Regions from separate parts of the Homo sapiens genome. Here region 1 is linked to region 2. The links are contacts of gene promoters, found by promoter capture Hi-C in blood cells and fetal thymus (Javierre and others, 2016). All regions are on one chromosome and are shown on one strand. The core of a region is centred on a gene start or on the middle of the fragment in contact, and the rest is flanking DNA. Distances in the headings are between cores, read along the strand shown. Region 1 overlaps SH3BGRL2 (SH3 domain binding glutamate rich protein like 2). Region 2 holds the start of TTK (TTK protein kinase).

Evidence for each region. The method cuts DNA at HindIII sites, captures the fragments that hold promoters and counts their contacts. A CHiCAGO score of 5 or more calls a contact.
Region 1: a fragment that was not itself captured here is called in contact with the fragment with the promoter of TTK in region 2 in 2 of 17 cell types (non-activated CD4 T cells and naive CD4 T cells); the score reaches 5.7 in non-activated CD4 T cells.

What each region holds. Positions count from the first base shown.
Region 1 is chr6:79,664,153-79,669,299 of GRCh38, reverse strand. All of the region lies in intron 1 of SH3BGRL2 (SH3 domain binding glutamate rich protein like 2), which reads right to left. Among named protein-coding and RNA genes, the nearest start is that of SH3BGRL2, 35 kb to the right of the region's middle. The HindIII fragment of the contact is 1,226 bases long and covers 2,227-3,452 here.
Region 2 is chr6:80,002,905-80,008,417 of GRCh38, reverse strand. It overlaps TTK (TTK protein kinase), which reads right to left and starts at 3,769. Exons shown (of 22, transcript NM_003318.5): 1 at 3,705-3,769; 2 at 2,436-2,576; 3 at 387-609; 4 at 1-32. The coding sequence starts at 2,574. RefSeq lists enhancers at 4,168-4,287, 3,858-4,732. The HindIII fragment of the contact is 2,460 bases long and covers 2,467-4,926 here.

The DNA of each region.
Region 1 (5,147 bases), core at 1,590-4,089, 340 kb after region 2:
CCTTTAAGTATCACCTCTTCAAAGAGCCCTCTCTAACAACCTTGCTGAAGTTTTATTGCCTAAATTTATTAAAATTTTATTTATTTATATGTCTCTTTGTTTTTGTTCTCACCTCTCTCTCTACAATGTCAATTCTGGAAGCAGAAGGACCAGCGTGCAGGAGGCCCTCAATAAATATTAACTGAATGGATGATTCAAGAATTATTCCAGTCCTAAACATCAAAGATTTCCAGGTGATGTTCAAGAGAAACTATTCAAACTAAGTGAGTAATTTAATTTAGGAACAAATGTAACTTACATTTAGCCCAACAGGAAAGTGGATCAAATGACAGTATTTCTCAATCCCAAAGCAGCACAGTTTTGAAAAGCATTGTGCTTAGGATGCTACATCTAACTGTACATAGCCGAAATAATTCAGAAGAGTCTCTAGACCCTGATGCGAAAAAAGACTTTGCTTCTAACTCTGACAGTGACTGAAAAAGAAAGTAGTATGTGGTTGCATGTTTAAATAAATTCTATTGTCAGTTAATTTTAATAGTTGCAAGTGCATAACAAAACAAGAAGTGTTTTGTTTTGCTCAAATGGTTTTATTAAATTGTTGATACATTTATAAATATGGCAATTGAGATTCAGGGTATTTCCCTGAATCTGCTTCCCATTACGACCTTAGTACTCTATTACCCTCAACCACTCCCCCCCACTAACTTCAGGAGCTCTGAAGCAAACTCCTCCCTCAGATGTGCTTTGAAGCAGCCTTGTTGGCCACTGAATGGATAAGCCTTTACCCTTTGACTCCAGATCTGTGAATCTCCTGAGGACCCCAATGCCTGCACCCAAGCCCTCGTGACTCACCCCCACAGGGCCCTGGGGAGTAAGCTGCGGGGTCTCCTGACTCCGCATGAAGACTCAATGACCCGTGGAAATCTTAGTGAAGACACTTGGAACCTTCACTGGCAACCTCCTGGCTCCTAGAGTCCCTAGGGATTTGATTGGAAGACAGGCTAAATAATTACCTTGCACGTGACTCAGCCTTAACCCCCTACTCTGTGGCACTGACTGCTAAGTAAACTTGCATGCCTCTACTCTCTTCTTGTAGGATTACTTCTTTCCCGGGAGGATCCCAGTTAACTTATATAATTAAGCAGCCCCTGCCAGATTCCTTCCATAGGCTTCCAGACACGTCTAGCCATGTTTGAATTCCAGGGTATACATAGCTGATGCTGCACCATGGGACTCACTAGCTGATGCTGGAACCTTGGGACTCACTAGGAAATAAAGAGACATAATCAATTTGAATAAGAGTTTTTTTAACATTGAGATTGAATAAGAACAATAATGGGAAACAAGTTTATCTGAAGACAAATGAGCCACAGAGGACAATGAGGAAAACTGGGGGGAGGTGGGGCCGGGGGAAGTATATATTTTAGAGTCAGATTGTCCTGGTTTTAATTTTGACCCTGACAGATGGGTAGCCTTGGAGATATTACTTGGCATCTCTCTTAGCTTCCATTTCCAAACCTGTGAAATAAACTGCTAAATTAAGTTTAGCCTAAGGCCAGGAGCGGTGGCTCACGCCTGTAATCCCAGCACTTTGGGAGGCTGAGGTGGACAGATCACCTGAGGTCAGGAGTTCGAGACCAGCCTGGCCAACATAGTGAAACCTCATCTCTACTAAAAATACAAAAATTAGCTGGCTGTCATGGCATGTACCTGTAATCCCAGCTACTCAGGAGGCTGAGGTGGGAGAATCCCTTGAACCCAGGAGTCAGAGGTTGCAGTGAGCTGAGATCACACCACTGCACTCCAGCCTGGGCGACAGAGTGAGACTCTGTCTCAATTAAAAAAAAAAAAACTTAGCCTAAAGCTACCTCCTTACATATTTTGAGTTCAGCCTAAAGGTTGCTCCATCCATAGTGAACTGTAACCTAACTAGATACGTAAACAGATTGTAACCTACTCTTGGACCAATCACAGCATTTCAGCCAATTAAGGCAGCCAACTATTCGAACTGTGTCCAAACAAGGCAAGCGCCAAGCTGTAACCAATCTAACTTCCATTAGATTATTCCCGTTTTTGTACCTAACTTCCTTTTTCTGTACATAAATTCTTTGTGACTATGAAGCAGTGTCAGAGTCCTTCTGAACCTATGCTGGTTCAGGGGGCTGCCCAATTCACAAAATATTCTTGGTTCAGTAAAACTCTGTTAAATATAATCTGCATAAAGCTTTTCTTTTAATAGAACCCAATTATCTTTTTTCCATAGGTTCACTGGAAAATTAAACAAGAAAAGGCCTAAGCAGTAATGGGCACCTGCTCAATTGTTTCATTCACTCAAACATACTAGCTTTTCTATCTTTGCCCTAGATGTGGCCTCTGTCAAAAATATAGTAACTTCTGAGTGCTTTCAAAGGCTTTAGATATTCAACACAACAGTTCTTTATTTCACCTGCTTTCACACTTCAAACACACAGCTTTCTTTATTCTGACTTGGGGTAGATGTAAGGCTGATTAGGACCTCTTATGTATCTCAAATAGAAAAAAGTCAGACAGTGAGAGAAAATAGAAGGGAAAAGTTTTTTTTAAAACAGCTTGACGAAACTTACAAAGGAGGGCCTGGACTGGATTAAGGAAGGTAGAAGGCCCTAAGTTGATTCTTCCTTTCAACTAACAAGGGAGGAAAGGGCTGAGGCTCTTTCCCTTGTCAAAGACCTCAGGAACTTTCCAGTGATTGAGTAGGGTACCTCAAATATACCTAATTTCATGGCAAATTCTTTAAATAAAACACCATCCTTGGCCTTATTAGGGATTATGCTGTCAAAAAAGAGGATGCAAATGGCAGAAAGTACTGTGGCAGACATTAGCCTAGTTACACCAAAGCCATTCATGATCTGCCCTGTGAAGTCTAAAAAACTAAAGCTCAGTGTACTAGGTGGAGCTTCTGGACAGAGCTTGGCTTTTCTGCTGAAGCCGACAGATTACAATGCTAAGGCCCCTTGTCCCTGCCCTTCCTCATTCTTCCAGCTTGGCATCCAGATGTGAGGGCTAGTGGTGTGGGGCAGCCTTTCCACGTTGAGGTGACAGGCATCAGAAAAGGCCAAGAGAATCCCAGCAAGGCAGGCCCTCGACAAGTTCAGCCTCCAGACTTACCAGGAGAGACTGAAACACCTCTGTTTAAGCTCATGTTAGACAGGTTCTCTGTTACTTGCAAATGAACACATTCCTAACTGAAACCCTCAGCAGTACGCCTCATTGTTGGGGAGCAGGGCAGGGGTGTAGAGTAACCCCCAAGAAGCCATTTGCTAACTGGCAATGTTCTAATGCTGCTTAACTAAATGAGAGATTATACATAAAGTACAGTGTCTCCAGTTTCTATTTCAGTTTATCTTACTAGAAAGCAAATACCAGATTACCAAGCCAAGGATAAAGAGGCTGACTTACAAAAGACTGAAGCTTGAGTTTTACAGAATCCCTGTCAGAAAGACAGATTATAAAATAAAGGTCAATTTTTGAAAAACTGTTAGTACATGTTATAAATTGAAACAATATAATTTTAATGATAGAAAATGCTGTGGTTTTCCATCTATGTATCACTAGCACAGTCCCTGGCACTTACTACATGGGCAAATATTTGTATTAAACAAATAAATATTATTAAGCTTGAATTCATACTTTTAACTTTGGTTTTCTTTTTAACCAGTCAATATTTTTGGTCCTGTTTTCTTGATCAATTTGCATTGGTTTCTTTTTTACATGTTTATAATATGGTAAATCATCTTTCCCATTTGAAATTTTTTAATTTTAAAAAACCCATAATCTCATCACGCTGAGGCTTTTATTTTTCATAGAACCTTCCAGGGAGCCCACATTTAGAAGTAGACTTTATATAGTTGCCATAATAACAAATGTTTTGGGGAAGGATGTTTCTGTTGTATTACGAATATTTTTTGTTTCTAAAATCTCCATAGCTATCTTATTGCATGTATGAATTATATTGAGTACTTATGCTAATGTATTTAAACATTATTCTAACATTGGAGATTTAGGTGTGTTGTAAAGATGGTGTTTCAAATTTGCTGAATTTTTATTTTTTTATTTATTTAGAGACGGAGTCTCGCTCTGTTGCCCAGGCTGGAGTGCAGTGGCTCGATCTCAGCTCACTGCAAACTCCTCCTCCTGGGTTCAAGCGATTTTCCTGTCTCAACCTCCTGAGTAGCTGGGACTACAGGCGCCCGCCACGACGCCTTGCTAATTTTCGTATTTTTAGTAGAGACGAGGTTTCACCATGTTGGTCAGGCTGGTCTCAAACTCCTGACCTCATGATCTGCCCTCCTCAGCCTCCCAAAGTGCTGGGATTACAGACGTGAGCCACCATGCCTGGGCAACTTTTTCAATGATAACAAATGGTTATTAGTAGTAGGCTACCTAGCAGTACTAAAACACAGGGACTTTACACAGATTTTTCTAAATCTTGTCTCCTAAAGTCTTTCAAATGAAATATTTCAGTGAATTGTTTTAATGTAACATCTTTCCGTCTTTCCATTGGTTTCCTGGAATAGCTAATTGACATCATGGAACATAACATGATTTCAACTATCAAACTGTTAACAAAAACCTTTATATGACTGATGAATGGGAAGTAGTTCTGGCTGCTGCAAGTGGGACACTGAGGTCTGTGTGGGACACTGGTTGGTCTGTGAACATGTGGCTTTGCTGGACTGAACACAGTGACAGTGACACCAAAGGCAGCAGCCTGAACCTCAATTGGGCCAGTTGGCTTTATTAATGTTCTAGTCCTGAACAGTCAAAAAGGGTTGGGTCTGTGTCACCTTGGCCAAGATACTTATTCTACCAAAGCCTTGGTTTCCTCATCTGTAAAACACAGATAATAATTCAGCATAGAGAACTGCAGTGAAATTTAAATGTCATAATGTTCATAAAGTTCTTAGTGCAGTGCCTGGCATGCAAAAAGAGCTAAACATTAAATCCAATCACAAGTCCGTTCCAAGGTGGGTGAATAGGAACAGCTCCAGTCTGCAGATCCCAGCGTGATCGATGCAGAAGACAGGTGATTTCTGCATTTCCAACTGAGGTACCTGGTTCATCTCATTCGGACTGGTTGGACAGTGGGTGCAGCCCACGGAGGGCGA
Region 2 (5,513 bases), core at 2,520-5,019:
AGTAGTCACGTGCATCATCTGGCTCTTGAATACTGTAATAAAAGATTTGAGTCAAAATTTAAGAAAAAGAACATAGCTACTTAAATTTGATAATGCTTCATTCAATTTTCCAAAAAACATGGGATATTGCTTTTTTCTGTGGGTAAAATTAAATACTAATAAGTTATTTTAAAAAAATCTTTTTAGGCAGTTTAAAATAAGTAAACTGTTGTGGAAACGTGCATAGAAAAGAGTTTACATTAGTCTCTTGTTAACTATAAGCAAAAGTATTTGGTAAAAAAATTAATATTTTCTCACAATACTGCCATGTTTTTTATTTTCTCTCTTTGCAGTGTAGTTACATATTATGTAACATAGTTGAACATAGTTAAAATGCTAATACTTACGCTTTTAATTCAGCAAATCTCACTTGAATTCTAGCAAAACTCTCATTTTGGCCATATTTATCTGGGGGAAGCGCTTCAATTGCTTGACTGTAACGACCAATCAATTTATTTAAAAGAGCATCACTTAGCGGAACACTGTTTTTCTCTAGTTTGAGCAACAAACTCAACCAGTCCTCTGGGTTGTTTGCCATCATCATAATTTGGTTAACAGTTCCCGAGTTATCTAAATAAGGGGAACAAAATATATCACAAGAAAAGACATAAAACAAATGCCAAATTGCATTTTTCCTTCAAAATATAGTCAAACATTTGTACTGTCAGTATCAATGTACATAAAGTCCTTATAATACTTTTTAAAATTGTAAAAGTTCATATAAATACAAGTAACTTATTTATCGTGTATTTATCTTTTATGAAGGTATACTTTATCCAAAAGCTATATATTTTGAAGGAAAGAAAACATTTGGAAATAAGTGAGTTTTTTTGTAAGTAGCCTTTAAAAATTGTATGTAGTTTAAGAAAATTTTATGCTGTTGCAGGATAACTATAATTTTAGCATCCTACCTATCCATAGAAAACTAAATCTCTCCCACTGCCACTTGTACTAATTAACTTAGAAAATTCTCCCATCAATGATTTATTCATTAAACCTACTGCTCCAGTCCTAACATAACCTTCTTTACAACCTTAACCATTCAACATTATCTCTGTATACCTCATACTTACTTGTAAAACCAAACCAGCTTTACAAAAAATAAACAAATGAGACAATCATTTTCTTCTCTCCAAGTAACCTAAATTTCTGCTAGAGGCCCTGATAATTTCTTGGTCCAACAAACTCATAGTTACCGTGGTCTAGACCTTTGGAATTTATAGGACCTCTTGTGACTGTCAGGTTTCTCTCTGTGGAACCCCAACCAACAGAAACAGCAAGAATAACCTTCAGACAAAATGTTCACACTGAAATGTACTTTTTACTTTCTTCAGTGTTAGTTTTTTAAAAAGATAACTTGAATGTCAGTCTTCTGTTCAGGATATTTTGGTTATTACTAAGCAATATTAAATTCAGATTTCCAGAGAAGCTATTATTCCTTCTATTAACTTCAGTCACTTTCAACAAAGCCTACATCTTTACTTTTATAAATAAAATTTGTTTCTACTTTCTACTAAAATATAGTGCATGCATAACTTTGCTTTGTCGTTTTAAATTTAATTTGGTCTGACCTTAATTTTCTATTTTTACCTCCTATTGCTTTCCTAAGAAATTAGTCTGTGAAATGTCTAAAAAACACACATTGCCATCTGTGGCTTTGCAGATGCATTCCTCATGCCTGAGTACCCTATTCTTCCTCTAATCAACAAATAAAACATTTGTGTTTTATCATGCTAGTATTCCTATGATGCCCAGCATGCATTACAATGTAGCATAGTGAATATATAAATTCTCATCTAGAAAGAAACTATGGTTTTAAGCATCTTTGAATCTTCCTCAGTACTTAAAATACTCAATTGCCTTGATGTACAACCTTTGTTAGTGACATAATTAAGCACAATTATACTCCATTAAGATTTTGCTTAACACTAAAACTATCATTTTCTAGGTTTTTTCAAAGTGAACAGTCAGCCACCATGATTAGATCACAGGTTCTTCCATTTATTTTCAATTCCTCATCTATTTAAAGGTTAGTATAGATGTAAGAAAATTATCCAAAGGTCACCATTCAAATGACCAACCATTTGAAATACAGTAAAGAATCAGGCTTCTGAGCTAATACTTTTAGAAGAGCTAGAGTATTAAACTCTGGGCATTTTCACCCATTAATCATTGTTCAATAAATGTTTAAGTGCCTACCTACCATGTGCCAGACACCATTCAAAGTTCTGTGGATATAACAGACAAAAACCCTGCCATCATGTAGCCTGCATTCTAATGGAGGAGAAAGACAATAAACACATGAGTAAATTATAAATAAAGTGATTAGTACTATATCTTTACCTTAGAGGATACCCAACAAACAGTTACTAACTTAAAAGAAAAGAAAAACTCACCTGTAGTATCAGCAGAAATTTTATTCAAGCTTAGTTCATCAGTAAGGTCTTCATTTTTAAACTTATTTTTAATGTCTCTCACTTTGTTCATTATGGAATCAATTGTCAATTCTCTGCCACTTAAATCCTCGGATTCCATTTCTAAGAAAAAAACTGAACAGTCATAACTCCTACTTTAACTAGCATCAAAGAAAAAAATGCACTAGCTTTTTAGAACCCAGACGACTAAAGCATTCGTTTTGTGAACACATCTAAATGCAGCTATTATTAGGCTAGTATTAATGGAGGTAAGTGCACAACAACAAGGTACACATCTTTGTAATTTATTCACCAAGGTTTCATAGGCCAAGTATACTTTTTCCCCCAATATAACATCAATGACGTCACACTGTAGAAATCTGCAAATTTAGTGTCACTTAAAAAAAATATGATAGAGTGTTTGCTTGGATTTTGGTAGCGACATACACATAAAGATTGCTTGGATTCTGGTAGTGACATAGACATAAAGAATTCGTTTGGCAATGGGAATAACAATTCCTTTATTCGCCTGCTTTACTTGAGTAAATCTTCCAGTGCAAGTGCTTTCAAAGCAGAATATAAACATGATGGGGCTTTACTGATAATTAGGAAATCCGCAGATTTATTCTTGTGCATATCTAGCAGAATCACGATTTGCTACCTTAATCTAACACTAAGAAACTATTGTACTGGTACTGAGCACTTGCTTATCTGCATGGTGGTGGTGTTTGTTCAATAAAGTGTCTGCAGTCTTATTGTTAATCGTATCTTTGTGACTCTCAAACACCAACTCAGTGTCACTGATAACAATGCTGCCCCGTCTTCAGGTTTAACAATGAAAAAAAGTCATAAAGTTGCAGCAAGGTATCACTCCACCTCTTAAGTCAGGTTTGAAAGATAACTGTCAGATCACGGCCACCCGCTTCTTTCCCAGTTCTAACCCCCAAAACAAGAGAGACTGTCCTTTGGAAAACGATCTTGTGCGCAGGTACCCCACCACCCCTTCTTTCCAGCGTGGGCCACACCCACTTCTTACTTCCTCAACAAAACCTCCTGCATCACCCCACCGGCCAGACCCGCTGAGGCAGTGAGACATCCCCTCCCCCTCCAGCTCGTTTAGCCGCGTCGCATACCTGGCTCCGAGCTGCCCCCACCTCGCCCCACCCCTCACCGACCAGCGCTAACAATGAGCCCCTACACCGGCTGCGGCTGTTCCTCAGTGCGCCGGTGCACCGGTAAGACAGAACTTACCTACAGAAAGCTGCGCTGGGGAAATGAAAAGATGGAACCCAAACTCCTTTCCGCAAACACGTTTGAATTTCCCCGTCGCTATCACTACGGTCTCCTATTGGTCAATGCTAGCCACGTAGAAGCGACAGTCGTGATTGGTTCTTGTGCGACGGGGGCCGCCCCTCCTCCTGCGTCAGGCTAGGCCCGCCCCGGAAGAGCCTGCGGCCGCGACCCCACCCGTGCGGCGCCTGGGTTGGTAGGGTGCTGGCACTTTGCAGGCGTTCCCCGGACGCCCGTGGGCGGGCTTTCCTGGTCTTTCCAGTTTAACCAGGCCGAATTTTTGCCTGGGAGGTAGCCACTCCCGAGCAAACCTACCCAGTGAGAGGAATATAGGGGCAGGGACGGCTGCTCCTAGCATCAGGACCTAAAAGATGCACCTTGGGCCGGCCCTTTACTGACCCCACCGCCACCCTTCTCCTTCGTTTCCCGCGGTTCTCACAGCCTGGCTTAGAGAGGATGTGGCAAGAAAGGATCTTTCACTGAGCTACGTTCAGCCCTGCCGCCAGCTCAAGAATTTCAGTGCTTTTTATCCTTGAGCTTCTGCTTATGCCCTTCCATTATCCTTAAATGACTCCACGCTCTGTCTTCAAGCCAAGACCCTCCCCCTTGTCAAAATTCTGCGCAGAACTCAAGCGCCCATCGTGATTGCCCTGTCTGAAGTCGCCTTATCGGCCCCCCTCCCTCGAAGCCTGCCCCACTTAAGGGCTCAGGTGTCCTCAGGGGTAAAAACATCTCCCTAGTAATAATCTTCGCGGGTGCGAGGCTCTGCCGCTAAGTGGCTTTGTGGTCCAGGGCAACGGTTACTCCTCGTCTGCAAAACTAAAAGGGATGTGTCTGTTGTGCCAGCATTATGACATATATTCTGTGGTAGGACGGGTTGGTTTTGTGTATGTATAGGAAACTAACTGCAGCTGTCACTTGTTAACTCCAAAGCTATCCTTAGAACCCTCACATTCCCAGCTCTGGATAGCCACCCAGCTAGCGTGAGAGCCCTTCTCAATCACTTAATGCATCTTTCTGTGTCAGCTAGCTAGTATTTCTGCTTCAGCAGAGCAAAATGACTTGCTATACCATGGTTGGCTAATCACTTACCTTTGCACCATTGCATCTAATGCTTCTGCCTGGAAAGAGTTTATTATTCCTCCAATTCTCGTTGATCTGTTTGCGGCCTGATCACAAAGCTTGCATTTTCCTTAAAATACTGTTGCTGGATGACCTCACCCTAACACTTCTTTCTGTACTCTCGTTTGGTGGTCTCCTTCAGTCTTCTATTTTTAAATACCATCTATATGTTGATGGCTCCCAAATGTGTATCATTAGCTGAGCTCTCCTCAACTCCATACTCAGATATCCACTGCCTACTTATTAACATCTTCACTTACATGTCTCATACGCATCTTGAACTCAAAATGTCCAAAACCAAGCCCCTGATCTTCCTACCCAAACCTGTTTTTTTTACAAAATCTATAAAAGACAAATTCATTGTCTTAAATTTTTTAGCCCCAAAACCTTTGTGTCATCCCTGATCCCTTATCTAACTCATAAGCAGATTGAGTCAGGGCTGGCACAAGAGATTCCTGGACTCCTACCAGTTCTCCCCACCTCCACTGCCACCACTTCAGTCCAAGGCATCTGCATCACTTAACTGATGTTACCTGCAGTAGCCTCCTGGCTGGTCTCCCTGCTTCTGCCCTTGCCTCACCTCAATTTATTCTCTGACATAGCAAAGTCATCTTAAATCAGATTATGTCACTACTTTGCTCAAAACCC